2 separate regions of the Homo sapiens genome follow, and region 1 is linked to region 2. The links are contacts of gene promoters, found by promoter capture Hi-C in human tissues and cell types (Jung and others, 2019). All regions are on one chromosome and are shown on one strand. The core of a region is centred on a gene start or on the middle of the fragment in contact, and the rest is flanking DNA. Distances in the headings are between cores, read along the strand shown.

Evidence for each region. Contacts are between HindIII fragments. The study calls those that stand out against the background at their distance.
Region 1: a contact is called between a fragment that was not itself captured here and the fragment with the promoter of AMOTL2 in region 2, in 3 of the 25 tissues and cell types used here (hippocampus, neural progenitor cells and psoas muscle).

The regions. Positions count from the first base shown.
Region 1 is chr3:134,407,488-134,411,791 of GRCh38, forward strand. No RefSeq gene overlaps it. Among named protein-coding and RNA genes, the nearest start is that of MIR4788, 28 kb to the right of the region's middle. RefSeq lists an enhancer at 1-460. The HindIII fragment of the contact is 5,326 bases long and covers 1-4,304 here.
Region 2 is chr3:134,373,153-134,378,132 of GRCh38, forward strand. It overlaps AMOTL2 (angiomotin like 2), which reads right to left and starts at 1,295. Exons shown (of 10, transcript NM_016201.4): 1 at 1,190-1,295. RefSeq lists enhancers at 555-1,354, 1,355-2,154, 2,155-2,952. The HindIII fragment of the contact is 13,073 bases long and covers 1-4,980 here.

The DNA of each region.
Region 1 (4,304 bases), core at 504-3,003, 35 kb after region 2:
GGAGACATTGAGCAACTGGGCGAGTCCACTGCAGATGGAGGCAAGACCTCCCGGCACAAAGTGCCAGACTGTGTGTTGCTGAAGAGCCAATGGCAGCCCGAGTGACCAGGGCTGTGAATGTTGAAGGTCTGTGTGTGTCTGTGGCTTTGAGAAGAATAGGTGTGCTAGATGGGCCTTTAAGAAGTGCCACAGTGACCTTCCTCCCCTCACCCACACATTGTTGTGTAAATACTACACAACAAAGGAAACAAACATGCGGGGCTCTTATTTGGGGAGTAATACCCTCTAGTAAAGGCAGATTGGGCTCCAGACCCTCGCTCACCCAGATGCCTTTATGGAGGGGTTGCCTCCTGCAAGGAATCCCTTATCGTGGCTGCAATTCCTGTCCTGCCTTTCTCTAATAGCCCCATGGCTTTGTGTCCTTGCAATTGCTCAGCCGGACTGTTTCTAAAACATTATATGGTAACTCCTGCCTCCTTGTTTTTTTTAAATTATCTGTCTCTCTTCTGAGGTCTCTCCATGCCTATGCTATACATATGATATAGAGGTATGGCTTGTATAACCATGAAGAAGTCATTAAAACCAGTCATTTAACTAGTTTAATCATGATTATCATTCCTCCTTTTTTTCTTTAAAGCGATGCGTCACACCCTGTTAGGAGAAGATTCTGGTAACTCTGCTGTGAAGAGTAATAGAACACCAGAGTTGGAAGGGAAATTTCACATTTTTCTGGTGCAGTGTTTTCAGACTTTGTCATTCAAACATCACCTTTGTGAGTTCTGTAACATCAGGTACCACCTGTAATATTATTAATACTTTTCCATAAATCCAATTTTATACGTAAATTTCATTTTTAAAAAGTCACTTTAGAGGTGATTCTGGGGACATGGTAACTGGAATATGGTTTCCTTTCTTTCCACTTCCAAATGAATTTCTGTTCCTCTCAAGATAAACGGTTGTCGGAAACAGTAGAAAGAACAGAACTGGTAGTTCTTCCCCATCAGATCTGCAAATACTGAGGAGTCTCAAAGTAAAGTCTGAGAAGTGAGTGCTGGAGAGAGCTTGGACCCCAGAGACCAATGGAAGGTTAACATTGCACTAGATGAAGATACCTGGTCCCCTGCGCCCCATCCCAGAACTAAGAAGTTGTTGAACCAGGGGGCTAAGTTCCCTAGTTCCTGAGGTTGGGAGACCCTACAGAGCCCAGGTCAGAGAAGCCTTTTCCAGGTGCCTGCACAGGAGATGGGCAGTATCCCCGCATCTCTACATAGGACGGAGCTTTTCCCCTCCTTTTCCTCAATAGAACATCTGTCCTTTAGGGTGTTCCCATCCTCAGACCTGAACCCAGTGAGCTGGCAAAGAGAGGGCAGTCAGAAGGGACAAGCAAAACACACACCCAGTGACACAGTGGCTGAAAGAGACAGATGACAACATGAATTTAAAAAACAATTTTAAAAAGCCCCTGTAGATATGTAAATAGAGAAAAAAAAAAGACTTTACGAAGCTGTAAAAAAAATGTGATTTCCCAACTAAACAACTCATCAGATGACTTGAAAGAGAAAACGGTCACTACAATTGAGAGAGATGATTGGGATGGGAAATCAAGGTCAGCACTCAAGGGCACCTTAAAGCACAGAACAAAGATACAGAGATGTAAATTAGGGAAAAGATCAGTCTAGCAGGGTAGATCTAATGACCCAACATGCATGAATGGTAAGACTTCCAAAGGAGAAAAAGGAAGACATGAAAGAAATAATAAGCATAACAATAATTTTTAAAACCACCATTGTCCTGAGGCAAAGAAAGATGTGAGACTAAAGATGGGAGATTGAAAGAACTTGTTGATTTTCAGGCTGAATGGATAAGAAATGACCTAGACCTATTTCTAAACTCTAAGGATAAAGAGAAAACTGTTACAACATCCAGATAATTACTTTAACTTACCTAAAAAGAGAAAAGAATCAGACTGGCGTTAGACTTCCCTTCCAGTACTAGAAACTAGAGACCAGTGAAATAGACTCTATAGGACCACACCTGATCAAGTGATTCACTTGTTACGGAAAAAGAAAAATATTGAGGCTAATGTTATTTCATGAAAATATTCAAGAAAAGGTGTTCCCCCAGAATAAATGAACCAACCGAGAATAAACTGGAAAAGTAGAATGGAATTTTCAAATTAACAAGGGGAAAAATAGAAGCCAGCAAAAATAAGAAAAAGCAAAAAGAGGGAAGAAAACAATTACTGCCCATCCTTATTATTCTAGGATTCTGCATTTGTGAATACACCTACTCACTAAATTTTATTTGTAACCCTAAAAATCAATACTTGGAGAGCACTCATGATCATTTGTGGACATACACAAGAGCAGCGAAAAATTTGAGTCACTCAACAGGCACTTTCCCAGCTGAGGTTGAACAAGGCAATGCTCCACCTTCTTGTTTCACTTCTCATGCTGTAAATGACAGTTCTTTTCTCAGACTGCTTAGTGTCATCTTTGTGTGTTTTTTGCTGGTGACTTCTGTGAAAATTGATTATATAAACTGAGTCACTCTTGTCATATGCAACTATTAGGTTGGTGCAAAAATAATTGCTGTTTTTGCCATCACTTTTAATGGCTAAAGCAGCAATTACTTTTGCACCAACTTAATACATCAGCGTTGAGGGGCTGGGGGGAAAAGCACTAATAATTGCACATAGCACCAGCTCTAATAGTTGAATTTGCTGCAAGTCCAGTTGCTGAAATAGCCTGTAGTAACTCTAAGACGAGTTTTACCTAGTAGCTGCTGAAACAACCTGTCTTGACTCAAAGATTTGTTTTATCTGCCTCCTTCACTCACCCATCAGAGCTTGCCAGTTCCCAAAAGCTTCTCTAGCAATGAGCTGTTTTCAAAACAGTAGGTATCATGGCTTTTTCTAGTAAGACCCCCAAACTTCCGTTTGTTTTTCAGACATACTGAAGGCCATCCCAGTCTGTGCGTATGCTCTGAATTGCAATTCTGTGCTTCCTAAATAAAACGCTGAATTTAAAGATTCATTGCTATGTTTTATTTTGACTTTCACATCTCCTTAAAAATGGCCCCCAAGTGTAGTGCTGAGGTGCTGTCTAGTGTTCCTGTGTGCAAGAGGCTGTGATGAGCCACGTGGAGAAAACACACATGTTAGACAAACTTTGTTCAGGCATATGTTGCAGTGCTGTTGGCTGTGAGTTCAATGTTAACAAGTCAATGATATATATTAAATAAGGTGTCTTTAAGCAGAAACACACCCACGACAAAGTTACGCATTAATTGGTTGATGAAATGTAACCCAGAGAGTCACAGAAACCTAACCCTCTATTTCTCCTAGGAGGAATGGTTCAACATTCACTATTTAGCATTTTCAGTGACTCTGTAAAACAAAACCGCTGTGAATAATGACAAGCGGCTGTCTTAATACACATAAAGTAGGATGGAAGGAAGATTATTCAGTAAATTAACTACGTCCTTAAATGTGGCTGAACTAAATACTTCAGTTTTTTTAAGGCCTTATAATGTTTACAAGAAATATCTAACACGATGTGATGATAAAATGGTTAAAAATAAGAGTGTCTATAAAGAGGTATCTTTTTGATAACTTTTTTTAGACAAAAGAATGTAATAGACAATTAATCGGCAATATTAATCAGACAAGTTGGAATTTAAGGCTAAAAGCATAAAAAGATTAAGGAGGGAAATTGTGACATGAATAGAGCATAATAAACATAAACTGGTGTGCAACAGACAGCATAGCAAGCAGCTAAATAGATAAAAAAAGATACGACTACTAAGTGTGATAAAAACACAGATATATAGAGAGAATTTTAATACAATTCTCATAACTAAAGGGATCAGATTGAAAAATTGATAAGGCATTGTCAAAAAATTATCCAAAACTTAAAAATAAGGCAGACATTTGGTTATCATGTCTTTCCAAAGTCATATGGGGCACTGAGCCATCCAAAGGATATTTAGTGATTTAGGGTGAATGTACTTTAGTCAACCCATTCCTTATTATTGATTAAAGATCTTACACATAGAATGGTTACATTTTAACCTGTATATTTTTGTCTAGTAAATATTCAAATAATTTCTGACTTGTAGAAAAGATAACCTTAAAGGTTAAGATTTATTGCCTTATAGAACATTAACCAGTTTTGTACCTAATCAGACAATCTTACTGCAACATTCCTTCATTAAATTTCCTTTAAATATCCAGTCCTCAAATTTCCTTTGAATCATCTTTCTTTCTTTCTTTTTTTTGGAGATCAAGTCTTGCTCTGTCACCC
Region 2 (4,980 bases), core at 45-2,544:
CCCCCCACACACAACGAGGGGTAGATGTGCAAGACTCCAGAGCTACCCGAGGCAAAGCAAGCAAATGGGATTCAATTCGTATGGGATTCAGTTCGCCCTGGAGTTTTATCTGCGGGCATTTCCTATGATAATCACTCTCTGGGCCGACTCCCACAGAGAAGGCAGGGGAGCGGCAGGAAGGAATGCGGAGCCTTCCTGACAGATTCCAGGCGCTCCATAGTGTGCCCGGACTGGGAGCAAGGAACATCTCCAAGGCCTCTCATCGCGAATTTGTCCCGGCCAAGCCCCTCAGATTCACGTCCTTTCAGACATCAAACGCCTGGGCCTTTACAAAAACCTGCTTCCGCGCCCCCGGCCGCGAACCTCTGCTGCACTCGCCCGCTGCGCTCTCTGAAGGCCGCCTTTCTAAGCCAGCGCGCGTCTCCAGCCTTGGCCTGGGCTCCTGCTCGCCTAAGGAACCAAAGACAGTCTCCAAGCTAGGAGGTTCTGGCACCCCAGCCAGGGCTCCCGCCCCACCACGAGCCCGGGCGGACCTGGAGCACCGGTGGCCGCTGGTACGCCTGGGGCGAGCCGGTGAGGGTAGCCCGAGGCCCGGAGAGGTCTTTAAGCATCGCGGGTCCGCCTCCCTCCCTCTCGAGCCCTCTTTGTTTTCCAAATACTCTAACGCTGACGTCACCGGGCTGGACAGCAGGCTGCATTCTTTCTAAGTGAGGGCCAATTCGTGGCTCCAGAGAGGATTTTCCAAGGAAGACAAAGAGGAATTCTTGGACTAGTTGGGGGCAAAGGCACCTGTAACCCCCACCTAACCAAATCAGCCCGCAGGACCCTGCAACTTGAGCTCCAAGCGGCGCCTCCATCCCTGTCCCCCGCCACCCCCACCCCCGCCGACCTGCAACCCGAAACACTGTGGCTGTTGTCTCCGGAGTCGGCCCTCTCCCCTCTCCCCCAGCCCCAAGAGACCCGCGCGTTTCTAGAGCCCCGCAAAGCCCAGCGCGCTGCGCTCCCTGGGCAGAGCGGCCCTTGCCAGGCACTGCGGCTGCCTCGAAAGGGCGCACTGCGCCCCGAGGACGCTCGATCCTCGAGGCTCCGACTCCCGGAAAAGGCCGGGTTGCGCCGAGACTCCAGCTTTGGCTGGGGCACGTTTCTGTGGCCTCGCGCGCTCTCCCGAGCGCCGAGCGGCCTTCCTTACCGCTGCGGCCCGAGGGTGCCCAGCGCAGTCAGACACCACAACCTCCGGCTCGGCCCAGCTCAGCTCGGCGGCGAAGATGTGTTCTCGGCCGTGGCGCCGACGCTCTGGCTGTTCGCGCCCCAGCGCGCAGCCCCAGGGTCGGCCCGCGCCGGAGGCGGCTGCTATGCCAGGAATGTGAGAGTTTCAGGTTCCCCCTCGGGATCAAAGCGAACCACAAATAACCTCTCAGCGCACCGCCCTCCTCCGCCCTCCGCCTTCTCCCGCTCCCTCCTCCCGGCCCCCGCCTTCCTCCGGGGAGGCGGCGCTGCTGGCCGAGCGCCGGCCCGGCCCCCGAGCTCCGTTCCTCCGCGCCCAGCGCCCTCCAGGCCGCGGTGTGTCCGCCCCTGCCCCATGCTTTGCCTTCGGAGCTGCTGGAGACAATTTAATCCAACTCTGCCCATTATCGCCTCCACTCCCAGTCGCCGACCCGCTCTCACCCTTCATCCCTAAACCCATCGACGGGACGACAGCAAGGGCTGTACCACGCGTGTCCTGGGGTTGCTGCGGGAGGGGACTCCGGCTGTGTGTGTGTGTGTGTGTGTGTGTGCGTGTGTGTGTACCGGGGGAGGTGGGAAAGGGAGGAGGGACTGCAAAGACATCCATATCCTCTGGGCTGGGACAGTGCCCCGGGCTAAGTGAATGCTTCCAGCCACAGAGCCTCTTTCCCCTAACCCCCGCTGTTTTCACCCCCAGCGGCAACCTTTGAATGCACTTTTGTTTACAAACACCTTCGCCAGCTATTTTACGACCGTCTCGACAGGAAGTGTGAATCTGGGTTGGAAAATCCGGTCAATTTGACCCACCTACCCAACTGAATCACCCGCCGCCAGGCGCTCTGTCCAGTTCTTCCCCAAGGTGATAATAGGCGCCCCTTTACGCAGAGTGCAAGGTGTGCCACCGCTGGCTTTTCGCCCAGTCATCCGATTCAGCCCTGCCAAGCACCCTCCAACGGAGTTCTGTTATCATCCCTGTGTTGTAAATGAGGACACCAGGGCTCAGAGAGCTTAAGCAGCGTGCCCAGAGTCACACACAGTGAGAACCAGGTAATCAACCACTGGGCTGCTTGGTTTCTCATTCTCAAAACCCCTCCCTGGCTATCAGAATCCAGGCTCCCTAGATGGACAGGGCAGACACTGGGAGCCCTCCTCTCTCCACTTACCCTGTCCTTGCTTTAGTCTCTTCTTTACCTCCCCCTACACCCCTGCCAGCCAGGGGCTTTCCCCTGTACCCACTTCTGTGGCTCCTGCATGGAATCCTCTCCTCTGCCCCCAGGACACTTCCACTGCTAGATGGAAACCCCTTCTTCAGAAAGCTCGCTCTGACACATGCTGTCCCCGTTCCCCATCACACAAGCCCTCTCTACAAGTCAGTTGGGGTGAGGTGGGGGCAGTCAGGCCCCTGTCCACCCAGAGAGTCAGGGCTGATTTCTACCCCTGGCTGGGTCCTCCCATCAGCATGGAGTTTGCAAGTCCCAAATTCACTGGAGGGAAACAAGGACAAGGAAATTCTGCAAGCTTAATTGCCAGGGACATTGTTAATTTTTAATAAAACTCACAAAAAGTGTGTGTGTGTGTGCGCACGTGTGTGTTTTACTTGGAAGTCAAATACTGTGTTTCAAACAGTGATTGGATCTGAGATGATTGAGCAAATGGATCATTTGTGCCAAGCTACGGGATATTTGTCTTTCCAAGGATCCCCTTACGAAGAGAAGCTGTGATCAGTATACCACTGTAGGTAGGAATTTTAGAAGTGAAAGGAAAGAGGTCTCTGAGTGGCCTTACCTTATGGACAGCATAATTGGTGGAGGCAGGGGAGTGGTTGTGGACATGTGCACTCGGGTTGTAAAACCAGGGGAAAGACCACATGGTACAGTCCTGTCTTTCAGGCATTTGGGAGGATACCTGACAAAATGTTTGACAAATATTCTTGAGATGGTTGCAGAAAGGCGTCAGTTCAAGGCAGCTAGGGTGAAGGAGGTACATCTTGGAGTGGACAAGCCTGCTGCAGAGCCACACAGGCCCCCATGATTGCTAATTTCTGTCCCCAAAGGGACAGAAGCGGGAGAGGGATCCCAAAACCTAAATGAGAAATGTGCATGTACTTTTATTTTTCCTTTCCCTTTCTCTCTGCAGAAAGAACAGAAGGCAAGATCTGTCAGGCATGGCCTGCGGTGGAGCCTACCTAAGCTGGCGGCCACCCCAGCTCTGCAGGATAGTTGGTGGAGAAGGTGACCACTGTTCAGATGTGCCAGAGGCAGATGTGCACAGGGGACACTGGGCCGGCCAGCCTGCTTGCATATGAATCTTCACCTACAGCAGAGGGGAGAGAGGCTCTCTTAGTGAGCCAATGCTTTCTTCTTCCACCTTTGTCTCAATCTACTTTGTCCCATTCTCCTTTACCTCCTCTCTTCCTCCTACAGGTTATGATTCTTCCCAGATGACAATGTGGCTGGCTGGGTCAGGAATCCTATCCAGGAAAGATGCGGAGGTGACCTAATTCTCAGAGTAAGCCAGGCTGGAGGCCTTTGCTCTAGGAAGTGTAGCTCCTTGGGGTGTGGCTGCATCATAGGTGTGTACAGGGCTTAGCAAGGGATCCAGGCACCCACACCATCGCCTCTCCTTAGCCCCGGTCTGGGTCTGTGCCTGTTTTATGGCCTCAGTCTGGCCCTGCAGCTGCATCCCACTGCACCCAACCAGAACATGAAAGTGAGTTCTTGGTGGGACCCTAGCAGCCTCCTCCCATGGAGCCGGGAAGGAAATGTTCCCCTTACTTCCCAAATGGTTGCTTAGTGGAGGAGAGCTCCAGGGTGCAGGTGGCAAGATCAAAGGATGACTGTTAGTTGTGAAATTCACTTTTCCAGCTTCCCCTGAACACTCCCTCTGACAGGTTATGGAAACAGGAAACCTACCGGAATCTGGAGCATGAAGCAAATTCATAGGAAGAATCTGAACATTAGGATGGAAGTTCCAGTGCTCCAGTTCCAAGAACAGAAGAAGACCCAAGTGGGGGACTTTCTTCTCTTTGTCCTTCTGCAAACCCCTGTCCCCCCTTCACCCCTTTCTCCTCCCCTGCCTTCATCACTGCCTCTAGGTTTTCTCCCCCAAGTCTCCTCCTTCCACTGCTGCCCCCTCTCCCTTTCACTCTCATGCTTCAGGTCTGGAATCTCCGTTATGCACAAAGGGCCTCATGGGGTCTGTGTCTTTGGGGGTTAAATCCTCCAGAGTTGGAGATTTATGAAATTAGCCCCACAGTGGTTTAGGTAAGAGGATGTTGTCCTAAAAAAATGAAGAAGCAGCCAGGTGCGGTGGCTCACGCCTGTAATCCCAGCACTTTGGGAGGCCAAGGCAGGTGGTTCACCTGAAGTCAGGAGTTCGAGAGCAGACTGGCCGACATGGCAAAACCCTGTTTCTACTAAAAATACAAAAATTAGCCAGGCATGGTGGTGGACGCCTGCAATCCTAGCTCAGGAAGCTGAGGCAGGAGAATAGCTTGAATCCAGAAGGCAGAGGTTGCAGTGACTTCAGATAGCTCCATTGCACTCCAGCCTAGGTGACAGGTGAGACTCTGTTTAAAAAAAAAAAAAGAAGAAGAAGAAGCCCTGCCTCTCCAAACTGCACACATTCCTTGAGCCCCTGGCCTTCCTCTGTGGCCCTTTGCTTCTTTCTGGTGCCCCTGCCAGCCCAGGGCTAAGAGGATTCCTGTGAATGGTGAGGTTACACAATGGGCAGGGAGCTCTGAACAATGCTCCCACT